Regions from separate parts of the Homo sapiens genome. Here region 2 is linked to region 1. Evidence: promoter capture Hi-C in human tissues and cell types (Jung and others, 2019). All regions are on one chromosome and are shown on one strand. The core of a region is centred on a gene start or on the middle of the fragment in contact, and the rest is flanking DNA. Distances in the headings are between cores, read along the strand shown.

The links. The method cuts DNA at HindIII sites, captures the fragments that hold promoters and counts their contacts. A contact is called where the count stands out against the background at its distance.
Region 2: the fragment with the promoter of UBE2Z here is called in contact with the fragment with the promoter of SP2 in region 1 in 1 of the 25 tissues and cell types used here (hippocampus).

What each region holds. Positions count from the first base shown.
Region 1 is chr17:47,893,932-47,900,252 of GRCh38, reverse strand. It overlaps SP2 (Sp2 transcription factor), which reads right to left and starts at 4,017. Exons shown (of 7, transcript NM_003110.6): 1 at 3,960-4,017. The coding sequence starts at 3,966. SP2-DT (SP2 divergent transcript) reads left to right here and starts at 4,437. Exons shown (of 3, transcript NR_135480.1): 1 at 4,437-4,550; 2 at 6,295-6,321. SP2-AS1 (SP2 antisense RNA 1) reads left to right here. Exons shown (of 3, transcript NR_103857.1): 3 at 950-1,867. RefSeq lists an enhancer at 1-169 and silencers at 3,518-3,947, 5,496-5,790. The HindIII fragment of the contact is 13,929 bases long and covers 135-6,321 here.
Region 2 is chr17:48,904,414-48,910,734 of GRCh38, reverse strand. It overlaps UBE2Z (ubiquitin conjugating enzyme E2 Z), which reads right to left and starts at 2,328. Exons shown (of 7, transcript NM_023079.5): 1 at 1,915-2,328. The coding sequence starts at 2,231. It overlaps LOC105371814 (a long non-coding RNA gene), which reads left to right and starts at 1,752. Exons shown (of 4, transcript NR_135674.1): 1 at 1,752-1,796. RefSeq lists enhancers at 547-596, 617-666 and silencers at 1,540-1,669, 1,940-2,189. The HindIII fragment of the contact is 7,727 bases long and covers 1-5,164 here.

The DNA.
Region 1 (6,321 bases), core at 2,768-5,267:
AATTCTATAGGAGAGGTGACAACCCCAAAGAGAAGGCTCTAGAAAGATGACATTTGGAAATGTGTACGCTAGTGTCTGCTGGCTCCTCCTGAGCCATTTTTACTCTGTGAATGAGATCAAAGGCCACCTAACTGCCTAAATCACCACAAAGGGACAAACTGGTATCTCAGAGCACTCAGCAACAAAAACAAGAAAGCTAAGCCTCTGCACTGCAATGTGGCAGGGCTTCTGGCTAAGTATAGCAAGCAATTCTGATGTGGAGACAAACAGCAGCAATGGGAATGATATGCCAATGAAGGATTCCAACAGTTGGGTCTGCAAGTGTGCTTGTCCTGTGACACAAACGGCCTAGACATCTCAGCACTGCTTGGAGCTGCTCATTGGGGGAGCCTAAGAAACATCAGCCCTTTCACAACCTCTTGCTCCTGAGCAGAGCTCATCTCCCAAGAGCACATCAGCCCGCAGCCCAGTCTGATGAGAAGCACAGTATTCCCCTGTGCCAGTGGCAGCCTCAGAGCATCCTGAAAGAGCGCTTCCTAGACACGCAGTGGAAGCCATGACTTCCCCTAAGCTGCCGGTGCTGCCTCTGAACTCATGTGGAGGTTCTTTTTTCAGTGTCCCCAGAGGCAGCAGAAAAATCCGTTTTCCATTTTGGAATCTATCAAGTAGGACAAATCTGCCACCTGGGAGCATCTCCTCAAGGGCAATCTCTGCTCCCTTTCCTACATGGCCTGACAATACCCTCGAGTTAGAAATGTCCCATGTTGGCTAGGCACAGTGGCTCATGCCTGTAATCCCAGCACTTTGGGAGGCTGAGGTGGGAGGATTGCTTGAGGCCAGGAGTTTTGAGACCAGCCTGACATAGAGAGACTATGCCTCTATTATTTTAAAAAAAGAAATGTCACATATTTTTACCCTCTTCACTCATCTTTCCACCTTGCTCCAATAGATTGCTGACAGAAAAGTGAGACCTCCTCCACCCCAAGGTCTCCTAAGAGAATGCTGCTAGCCAAAAAAAGATCTGCTGATAATTGAGGAAGAGCATCTTTAAAAAGACACTCAACTACATTTCAGAAACATAAAGATCTAAGTGTTGGCTCTACAAGGGAAGAAATAAAGAGAAAGAACTTTTTTTCCTCCTACAACAGGTCTAGACAACGTCATACAAGGAGTTGCACGCATATCCAAAACAAAAGCAAGGCAAAAACAAGCAAAAAAGCAACAAATGCATTCCAAAATGATGTCCATTTATCAGCCCAGAAATGTACTGGATACTGGTTTAGTTCAGCCTGTAGGTGCTGGGAAGAAATTCCGACAAATCCAAGTCAGTTGCAAAAAGGGAAAACTCCAGACATATCACCCAATGAACTTGTAAGAAAGCATATGAGCTTCCCTGAACAGATTTTACTCCAGGTTTGCAGCCCGCAAGATTTAAGATGGGGCCATGAGGTTAAATCTTGTAAACTCAGAAGTGTTCACGCTACTGCATCCCTAAACTCTGTAACTCTCTACATACTCTTTAAAGCAGTGTTTCTCTGCATCTTTCATTCCATAGCCATTGTCCACCTGATCCAAAATATCCTAAGTTTTTCAGTGTTTGGAAGCAGGGTTTCCAATTTTTGTGTATACAGAAAAGGGGGGTGTGTGTGAAAAAATAAGTATTAGAAAAAAAACATGTTATACATATCTATCACAGAAATGAGTGGGCAAGGTTTAGAAGATGGCTGAAACCAAGCCAATACTAAGGTCTACTGGTTGGCTGCAACAAGTTTAAAATGTCTTCATAAGGGCCCTGGTTGGGCAATACTATACTTGCTGACAGTACTTGGGATCTGCCACAGACCTATAGCAAAGGACTGTTCAACTTCTCCAAAAAGCTGGTATTAACCACCAGAAGAAATAAGAAGTTCAAGGCCAAAATATCCAAATGAACCAACCACTCTACTTGCTGAAATGCCATAAAGCTTCTTTACCCCAGACATTTGCCCAAATCTTATAATTTCTTTTCTCCTCTCTGACAGGCCTCTCCAGAGGCCCAAACTTTAATAGAATCTGAGAGAAAAAAGTGGCCAGTCTATCTGCTGTCCAGAGTGATGCCAAACTCTTTCTCCCGGAGCCAGTTCTCCCCGTTGGGCAGTCAGGTGAGGATCCGATTATTAACAAACTCTACTTGGGTCTCCTTGGCAAAGAGTTTCTGGCTTCAGCAGCCTAGCTCAGGGGGGTTCATAATTATGTCAGACTCGCTTTTTTTCTTGTAGTTGCTTTTAACCAAAGAGGTTAAGCCTCTGTACAACCAAGAGGAAGAACTAGAATTAGAAAACTTACCAATCGTCCCAGCCAATGATAATCCATTTCCAACAGGTATTAACGCCTGTTAGAAGCCACTGGAACACTGACATCATCAGCCCAATTGATAGGTTGTCTGATAGATTCGCCCCCTTCATCGCACACAAGAATTTAAAACAAAACAAGACACTGCAGTTATATTCATTATTGCAGACAATGGGTTTCTTTGTGTTAGTAATTGAAATTACTGCTGTGGTCTGGACTCCACCATTATTTCCTTTGCAGCCTGTGAGCCAGCCAACACTCTAAACTTTCTAGCCCTAAAAATTGTATCATCCAGAATACCAACTCAATACAGCCCTCCACTGTGAAACTGAATGCCTTCTGGGGTACAGCATGAAACCGTTTTAGACAGTGCATGCCAGTGCACCTTGAAACAGTGTCCATCTGTAATGAAATCTGTAAACGGGAAACTTGGGCCAATTCATTGTTTAAAGCAGATCTACTGGCTCATACCTTTCTCTAGGAAACAATAAGTGAACAAGAAGTAACCTCAGAAGAAGAAAGAACTTTGGGAGAATGCACTGAGAAAGGCCAGACTGAGTCCCCTTGGATGAAGTTAATTAAGAAACAAACATGACAGGATATTGCAATCAAAACCAAGGAATGCAGTGAGGACAGGTTTCTCAGTTGCCCAGAGGAGAAAACATAGTTCCTTCTGAACTAAAATTAGAAAGCCGCTGGCAAGGAAACATAAGAAGCATGGATAAGAGGCTGAAAACCGTAAGTCAGCAATGGGGATGGAGGTGGGTACAGGAAGAGAGCGAGTATCTATTTTGTTTTATTTCTTCTGTAATTCCTTAAGATTGTTTGCGCCTGAGCTTTGGGACTGCAGTAGTCTCCCCTACGGGGCGTCAAGTAACAGGCTGGGAGCTCTGGCAAGAAGTTCTCAAACTTCTCACAATTCTGCTAAGAGCTTGCAGATATCTAGCTGGAAGATCAAGGATCCAAGTAAAAACATTAAAGGAAGGTTTTTGCCCACTCCCCGGTGAGAGGTCATCTGCCCAGGGAGTGCTCTCGTGTCCTGACACCATCGCCCGACTGGGGATATATCAGTAACCGGGCTGTCGTCGATGCCGAGCAGTGCCCATCTGGTTGGCAGCGTCCGGGTCTCAAGCGTTCCCTCGCCCCTCTCTGTTCTCCGGGGAGCCCTGAATCGCTGGTGGGCATCTACAGTTAAGAGTGCAGGAAGGCCTCTCAGACACGGGGCGAACACAAGGGCTGTTGGCTGCCTCCTCAGAGCCGACCCAGGCATAGTTCGCCCAGGCGGGAGAGCGGCGTTGAAGTGGGTCGGCACCCGTCCGAGGGGTGCCAGGCCACCCCGGTGCCCGCTCCTCTCGCCGGCCCCCGGAAGCGCCGCCCTCCCGCCCGGCGGGCTCCGAGGGGGCGGGGAGTCGAACGCCCCCTTCCGGGTGCCTCCGCCCGGCTGGCCAGCCCCGCTCCTCCTCCGGGCGGGAATCCTCCCTCCCCCGCCCCTCCTGAAGCCGGGCCCCGACGCCAGACCCAGCCCCAGGGGGGAACCCCCGGCCTCGGCTCCCTCTCCCCGCGGCCTCTGCCCGTCTTCCTGACCCTTGGGGGCCGGGAAGACCCCGCCGGCAGCGGCCGGGACCCACCGCTCATTACGACATCTTCCTCCCTGGCCTCCGCCGCCTCCGCCGCCACCGAGAGCCTGACACCGCCCGCCAAGCAACCGCCAATCCCGGAGCCCGCCACCGCCCGAGCGACGGCAGCCTTCACCAATAAGCGCTTGGAACATTGGGGACCGACAGCACTATTAACCAATCAACCAGAGGCGTCTAGAGCGACGTTGATTTGACCAATAGGTCTGTGCAATGTCACTGATGGACGGTAGAGCGCACCAACCGAAAGCCAATTGAATAATGAGTGACATGTGCATCAGCCAATTGGAGGGAGGCAAAGTCCCGCCCGCTGGGTGGTTGATGTACAGCAACAGGAAGCTGGAAGGGGAGGGGCTTAGCCGAAGAGTGCTTTTGTATTGGTCGAGGTTGACCTTCCACCCACCTCTAACCCAGAGGATGAATGATAGATCTGCCCTGAAGCCAATCAGAAGTCCTTAGGGTGAGGCCCACAAATGCCCCAGAAATAGCATATACATTGCGCCCTAAGTCCAGTCTCGCCCAGGTGTGGCAGGAGCTTTTACCTGCTCTTCGGCAGTAGCCGGCTGCCACTCAACCCCATGCCTGGTGAGTGGAAAGCCATCAACCTTTTATTTAGTCCCTCTCTCGTTGTCGCCTGGGGAGGGGCGACTTTGTACAGTGAGGCACTGGGGTCCGGCACCATAGTGGGAGTTGGGGTTGTTTACGCGACACTTCTAAGGGGATTTTCACAATCGGTTAAGCCCCCGTTAATCCTCACATGGTTATTGCGGCGACCCCCATAGCCCACGGTCCCAAACGTGTGCATCTGAATCATCCGAAGCTCTTTCTAAAGGCAGGCTCCCCTGGCCGCCTCTCCTAATCCGACTCGGTACTTCACGGGGCGTGCCTAGAATCTGCATTTTAGCAAGGGCCTCGCGTGGACAGAATTGCACGCTTGAGTTTGAGAAGTACTGCTTGGCCTCTGCCCCACTTACCCTTACCTTCTTGAGATGAGGTAAAGCACTTGGTAGGCACTAGGCGGGTAGGTTTATCTTTGCTCCCAAGTCTCTTCCGAGAACTTGGGAAGGCTGCCTAGCTTAGTGAGGGAATCCATTCTGGCTTCAGACCAGTCTGGGTTTGAAACCTACACATCCCACTAACTTAGGCAGGGTACCGAAACTCCCTGAGCTTCATGTCCTCATCAGTAAAACGAGGTTAATCACACCTACACCTTAGCGCGATGGCTTAAAAAAAAAAAAAAAAAAAACAAACAAAAAAAAACATAGTCCATCAAGAGAAATACATTTTGCATACAGACCAGTACACTGCTATTTGTATGAGAGTGTCATAAAGTTTCCGAAAACAATGCTTACTACTTGTGACGCACTGATAGTTTCTATGCTTATCCTATCCTATCTTATTCTCCTTCTTGTTGATCATGACTGGCAGTTTGAAAAACACTGCTAGAAAAGGTTGGTGTGATAATACAAAATGCAGAGCAGAATACCGGGTACACAGTAATTGCTGAATAAATGTTAATAGCCTCTTCCAGTCTTCTCCTCTCAGTGTTAGCCTTTGAAAAACAAGACTTTAGACAATAATACTCCTCTAGTAAAGATCCTTCATGGGATCCGTATCTCCTAGATAAAGCCCAAACTCCTTTCTAGGCAAAGTCCTCCCACTCTTTTTTCTTCTTAACCTCAGCATCCACCAGAGGACACACTCTTACTGGTGTATCTTTCATGCTTTATCTCCTCCCTCTACCCCCGTTCCCTTCCTACAAATCCTACCCTTTTCCCTCCAGGAAAGATTCCAGGTTCCTAAACACTTACGCTTTTTTCCACTAGTTGACTTCCTATGTGACCCTTCCCTTCTGGTAAACCCCTATGCATCCATGGCCGGATGTGTTGGCTCACACCTGTATTCCTAGTGCTTTGGGAAGCCAGAGGCAGGCGGATCACTTGAGCCCAGGATTTCGAGACCCAGCTTGGGCAACATGGCAAAACCCCATCTCTACAAAAAAAATTAGCTGCATGTGGTGGTGCGCACTTTTAGTTCTAGCTACCTGGGAAGCTGAGGTGGGTGGATCACTTGAGCCTGGGAGTTTGAACTTAAAATGAGCTATGATCACACCACTGCACTCCAGCCTGGGTGACAGAGCGAGACCCTGTCTCTCAGAAAAATAAATAAACTCCTATGCATCCTTCAAGACCCTGCTCAAAGTCTGCATACCTCACTCCTGCCCAGCCATAGCTTCTTCCTCCTCTGTGCTGCCCTGGCACATGCAAAAGAGCTTCTCTCTCACACACTATTTCCACACTTTTATTCTCACTTCTTACTCTCCTGCTAGACTGAGCTGTGGTAGAAGGATTGAGGC
Region 2 (6,321 bases), core at 1,079-3,578, 1.0 Mb before region 1:
GTTGTTATCACCTCAATGAGGCCAGGGTTTGAGAAAGTGGTGCTTGGTACCGCAAGTGTTTGTACTGTCTTGTTGGCTGAGAAATCTCAGCTGAGTACTTGTCAGGCAGGCAGAGAGCAAATTATTATCAAAAGGGCATTGTTTCCTCAGGGGGAGGGGAGGGAGAGAGGAAAAAAATCAGAGATCCCAATGGCATCAAATGTCAGCCTGGAAAAGCCACTTTCCACTTACTCTCACTTCCTCCCACATGGCAATTCATTCACTCCCCACCTCCATGATTCCCAGGTACTACGACTGAATGCTAAATGAAGATTTTTTAGTAACTGGAAAGGCATCATCAACTCCACTAAAAAACTAATTCTATAAACTATACAGTGGACCTTTATTGGTAAGGGGATTGTATGAAGCAAGCCAGCCAGCAGAGAGTAAGACTATCATGGTGGCCTTCTTGCCCAGGGGTGTCTCAGGGTAGAGATCTCTTCAGGCTGGGGAGGGATCCTCAGAAATTGCTAAGAATCTCCCATCTGGAAGATGACATGTGGACTTCCATAGGAGATAAGATTTCTGACTCATATCTCACCAACTGGAATGGATCAGTTGAGAGCAAGGGGCTAAAGAACATTCTAGGTGGCGAAAAGCCTAGGGACTTGCTAGGGTGGGTAGGGACATAAAAAGGGCAAATAGGCGACAAAGCAGAGGAAAGCATTGGCCAAACTCAAAGGTATGTCAGAATTGGATGACTGAAATGGCTGGAGGAGGAAAAGAGTTGAGTGCTGAGTTTCAGTTAGAGGTGGCAATCCCTCCACAGTTGACCTCCTGTGTCAGGCACTGTGCCAGGTACTTTACACACATTATATTAATTTTTATTACAACCTTGAAAAGTAGACACAGAGACATCTGAAAGGACGTGGAACATGGGGAATAAGAACTAAACGAAGATGCTTGTGATGGGGGCATGGGGAGAAGTCAAACAGGTTTCAGGATTAATAGCTAAAGAGCACTGCCCTTTTCTTATGCGATAGGTACTATTCTATGTGCTTCTGGAAAACATCATCTACTAAATGATAGGATCTAAGATCAGTCACCCAAGAAATAAGCACAGAAAGGACTTAGGCCTTTGTTCCTATATTTGATGAGTATATTTGCTTCATAGAAGTAAAACAGACGACCCGGGGAGGGTGGGGGGTGGGGGGAGGGAAATTACAAGAAAGAAGCTCCTGAGTGGGATATTACAATCCAGAGTGGCACTGGGGAATTGGGGGGAGGTAGCCTGTGTTTCTGGAAGAGGCGTAAGAGTGGACAGCTTTGGGACACTGGAAAAGGGGTTCAAGGAAAGATTGGGGCGAGGGAAGCGATCTAGACCTGGGAAAAGACTGTGTGGAGGGAATCTGAGAAAAACGGAGGATAAAAAGAAAGGTTGGCTCGAGTCAGAGGCATGGCAAAGGAAGCTGAGTTCGTCTGTGTTAGGAACGGGGCTCCAGAGGAGAAGAGAGGGGACCGATGGGTGGGGCCTGCGGGCAGCATCTAGCAAGGTTGGGGTGGGGAAGGGGAAATAGGGGCGGCGCCGAAGGCGGGAGGGGGCGTTACTGAAGCGCTAAAGGGTCGGGTTTCCACCCGGAGGTGGGAGGTGTGGGGGAGGGTGGCCGGAATGGAGACGGAGGGCTCACGGGAGGTTGTCGAGGGGCGGGGTCGGATCTGGGCACACGAGGCGGGGGTTGGTGCTTGCGGGTCTGAGGGTGGGGGGAGAAGGGAGTTGGATCCCGACGCCCGGAGCTGGCAAGATTTGGGCCGTGGAGGTGGGCCGCCGCGAGGGCAGCGCAGTGGGTGGGGGGTGAGTTGTAGTGGGAGAGGGTGGGGGGCGGGGAAGGTCGAGCCCCGGAGCTCGGGGCTGGGGGAGGAAAAACCCCGGCTCACCGCTTGATCCGGAGTAGACACTGCGGCGCGGTGCGCTCGCCGTCCCAGTCGGAGCTGAGCGTGGGGTCCCAGTGGCTAAGCAGCGCGGCCCCGTGGGCAGCGGCTGAGGGCGGGAGCCCGGGCAGCGGAGCCAGGCCGCTCCCCGGGCCCCCGGCCCCGCCCGCTGCCGCCGCCGCCGCCCACACATCCGGCAGGAAAGGCGGCCCGAACCCGCCGCCGCTGCCGCTAACGCCAACAACACCAGCAACGCTGCTCGCCCCGGGGCCCGCCGCCCCGGCGCCCGCCGTTGCCGCCTCCTCAGTCGGACTCTCCGCCATCGCTGCTTCGCTTCCGGGACTACTCGGCAGCACGTCCGCCGACCAGAGCGGCCGCTGCTCCCGCCCGCTCCCGCACCACCGAGAACCGGGCCAGAGTGTCCCCACCCCCTCCGCTTCCACAGCCCAGACGGTGCTGGCTCCGCCCACCCCCGCCCCAACCAGCGAGAGGCGCTCTGCAAGAGCGTCCACCTACGGTCCTCCAGGACGGGAGGGGTGGGAACTAGCAGGCCGTGATGGTTCTGGGCTCGTGTGGGTCCTGCGCTGTGCGGAAGTAGCGGAGAGCCCAATTCAAGTGTTGAAAGGGGAGAAGAGAGGAGGGAGTGGGGGAGGAAGGGCCATATCATTCCCGTTAATGGCGGCGACCCTCAGACGTCTGCATGGTTAGGATTGGGGATCCAGCATCCTCATGGGAAGCTCAGTAGAGAAGTTGACTCGCTTTGGGCCCCTTCTCTCGGAAAGGCTCTGCGATTGATCCCTCCTGCACACTTGTGCACCTAGGGCAGGGTACCATTGCCCTTGCCTGCAACAGGACCAAGAGAGAACTCAACTTGGAATGAAAAGCTACCTCTTTTAGAGTTTATTCAACATATATTTATGAAGGGCCTACTAAATGCCAGTCACTGTTGCTAGTTGTTGCCATGGGGATAATGAAACAGAACTAGAGAAGCTTGGTGAAAGGAAGAAACATCAGGCCTCCTGACTCCAAGCTTAGTACTTTTTCTTCCCACAAATCTTGGAATATACAGGAATCGAGGTACTGTGAGTGTAAACCCTGAGGATTCTTTGGGTCTTTCCTAAAATGTTTAAAGTGAAAAATAATCTGCCAGGCTCGGTGGCTCACGCCTGTAATCCCAGCACTTTGGGAGGCCGAGGTGGGCGAATCACGAGGTTAGGAGTTCGAGACCAGCCTAACATGGTGAAACCCCGCCTCTATTAAAAATACAAAAATTAGCCGGGCGTGGTGGCGTGCACCTGTAGTCCCAGCTACTCAGGAGGCTTAGGCAGGTGGATCACTTGAACCCGGGAGGCGGAGTTTGCAGTGAGTTGAGATCACGCCACTGCACTCCAGCCTGGGCGACAGAGCCAGACTCCGTCTCAAAAAAAAAAAAAAAAATTCCTATGGACTAAGAATGACAGGGGCCTTCCTAAAAAACTGTTTTTCCTTGCCGGGCGCGGTGGCTCATGCCTGTAATCCCAGCACTTTGGGAGGCTGAGGCGGGCGGATCACTAGGTCAGGAGATCAAGACCATCCTGGCTAACACTGTGAAACCCCGTCTCTACTAAAAATACAAAAAATTAGCCGGGCGTGGTGGCGGGCGCCTGTAGTCCCAGCTACTCGGAAGGCTGAGGCAGGAGAATGGCGTGAACCCGGGAGGCGGAGCTTGCAGTGGGCGGAGATCGTGCCACTGCACTCCAGCCTGGGCGACAGAGCAAGACTCCGTCTCAAAACAAAAACAAAAACTTTTTTCCCTAGCAAAAATATAGGATCAATATTAACTGGAAACCAGTGGGGCCAGATGTATTTCAGACTTTGGAATGACACACCAAGCAAGGAGTGGGGCAGCGCCGGGTAGCCAAACCTATTGACATTTCTGCATCAAAGTGTATGAACATTCGTACCAAGTCAAATGAATAGCCTCACTTTGGATGTTTTGCCACCAAGTTTGGTTTTTTAAAAAAGAAGTCTGGGCCGGGCACGGTGGCTCACGTCTGTAATCCCAACAATTTGGGAGGCCGAGGTGGGTGGATCACCTGAGGTAAGGAGTTCGAGACCAGCTTGACCAATATGGTGAAACCCCGTCTCTACTAAAAATACAAAAATTAGCCGGGTGTGTTGGCAGGCGCCTGTAGTCCCAACTACTCAGGAGGCTGAGACAGAAGAATCACTTGAACCCGGGAAGGAGAAGTTGCAGTGAGCCGAGACTGAGTCACTGCACTCCATCCTGGGTAAAAGAGTGAGACTCCGTCTCAAAAAAAAGAGTCTGGCTTTAGAGTTTTTTTGTTTTTTGTTTTTTGTTTTTAAAGAGGGAATCTTGCTCTTGTCACGCAGGCTGGAGTGCAATGGCGCAATCGTGGCTCACTGCAATCTCCGCCTCCTGGGTTCAAACAATTCTCCTGCCTCAGCCTCCCCAGTAGCTGAGATTACAAGCATGCCTCTATGCCTGGCTAATTTTTTGTATTTTTTTAGTAGAGGCGCCTCTACGCCTGGCTAATTTTTTGTATTTTTTTAGTAGAGGCGAGGTTTCACCATGTTGGCCAGGAAGGTCTCCAACTCCTTTTGGAGTTGGATCAAGTCATCCGCCCTTCTCGGTCTCCCAAAGTGCTGGGATTACAGAAGTCATCCACCCACCCCACCCTTCCTGCCTTTTAGAGTTTTATGAATTTACAGTAATGGAATGCAGACCTGAAGGATAATGACCAAGATTTATGGAGAGCTAAAGATTGATTTGTTTTGAGACAGGGTCTTGCTCTGTCACCCAGACTGGAGTGCAGTGATGGGATCACAACTCACTGCAACCTCTGCCTCAGCCCTCCAAGTAGCTGGGATTACAGACACGTGCCACGATGCCCGGCTAATTTTTGTATTTTTCTGTAGAAGCGAGGTTTCACCATGTTGCCCAGGTTGGTCTCGAACTTCTGGGCTCAAGCAGTCCTTCCGCCTTGGCCTCCTAAAGTGCTCGGGATTACAGGCGTCAGCCACCGTGCTTGGCCTAAAAAATTATTTTTTTAGCAGACATTTATTGAGTGTTTAATATGTGGCAGGCATTTTGTATACTTTGGCTTTATTCCTTTCAACACTCAGTGAAGTAGTAGGTACTATTATTTATTTATTTTTATTTTTTTTTTGGTTTGGAGTCTTGCTCTGTCGCCCAGGCTGGAGTGCAGTGGCGCGATCTCGGCTCACTGCAAGCTCCACCTCCAAGGTTTACACCATTCTCCTGCCCTAGCCTCCCAAGTAGCTGGACTACAGGCGCCCACCACCACGCCTGGCTAATTTTTTATATTTTTTGTAGAGATGGGGTTTCACTGTGTTAGCCAGGATGGTCTTGAACTCCTGACCTTATGATCCATCCGCCTTGGCCTCCCAAAGTGCTGGGATTACAGGCGTAAGCCACCGCACCTGGCCTTAGGTACTATTATTAATCTGGTCTGATAGATGGAAAAACAGACTTACAGAGGTTCAGTGAATTACATGGGGTCATGCTGAGAGCAAGTCGCATAATTGGGACTGTAAACCAAATCTGACTTCTGAGAACAAGTGCTAACCACTACGTGACACTCCCACACTTATATTTTACCTTGTACTAATTATGGTCCCTTGGTACCTGTTGCCCCCACCCCCCCCCCTTTTTTTTTTCTGTGAGAGGGAGTCTTGCTCTGTCACCCAGACTGGAGTGCGGTGGCCTGATCTCAGCTCACTGCAACCCTGCCTCCCAGTTTCAAGGGATTCTTGTGCCTCAGCCTCCTGAGTAGTTGGGACTACACCACGTCCGGCTAATTTTGTATTTTCAGTAATTCCTACCTCTCAAAGTTTCCCAGAGGATTAACTATGACATTTCCAGAAGTTTTTGTAAAGTGTGGGCCACCATGCCCAGCTGCTTTTTATATTTTTAATAGAGACTGGGTTTCGCCCTGTTGGCCATGCTGGTCTCGAACTCCTAATCTCAAGTGATCCACCCCACTCAGCCTCCCAAGTGCTGGGATTACAGGTATAAGCATCCCCATCCCCTCTTAACACACATACGCACACAACGTGTACACCCTTGGGGCTCTAGACAATGTATTATATGTGAATCCAGCACAGGGCATGGCACAGCTTAGGCGCAACATGAAATGAAATGAATCAATATAGTATTTTATGCAGATTTTGCGTTTTGTTGGTATAGTGTTTTATCAGCATAATAAAGATGCCAGAATATCTATAAAAGGATACACAAGGCCGGGAGTGGTGGCTCATCCTGTACTCCCAGTACTTTGGGAGGCTGAGGTGGATCACCTGAGGTCAGGAGTTCGAGACCAGCCTAGCCAACATGGTGAAACCTCGTCTAAACTAAAAATACAAAAATTAGCTGGTCATGGCAGCAGGCGC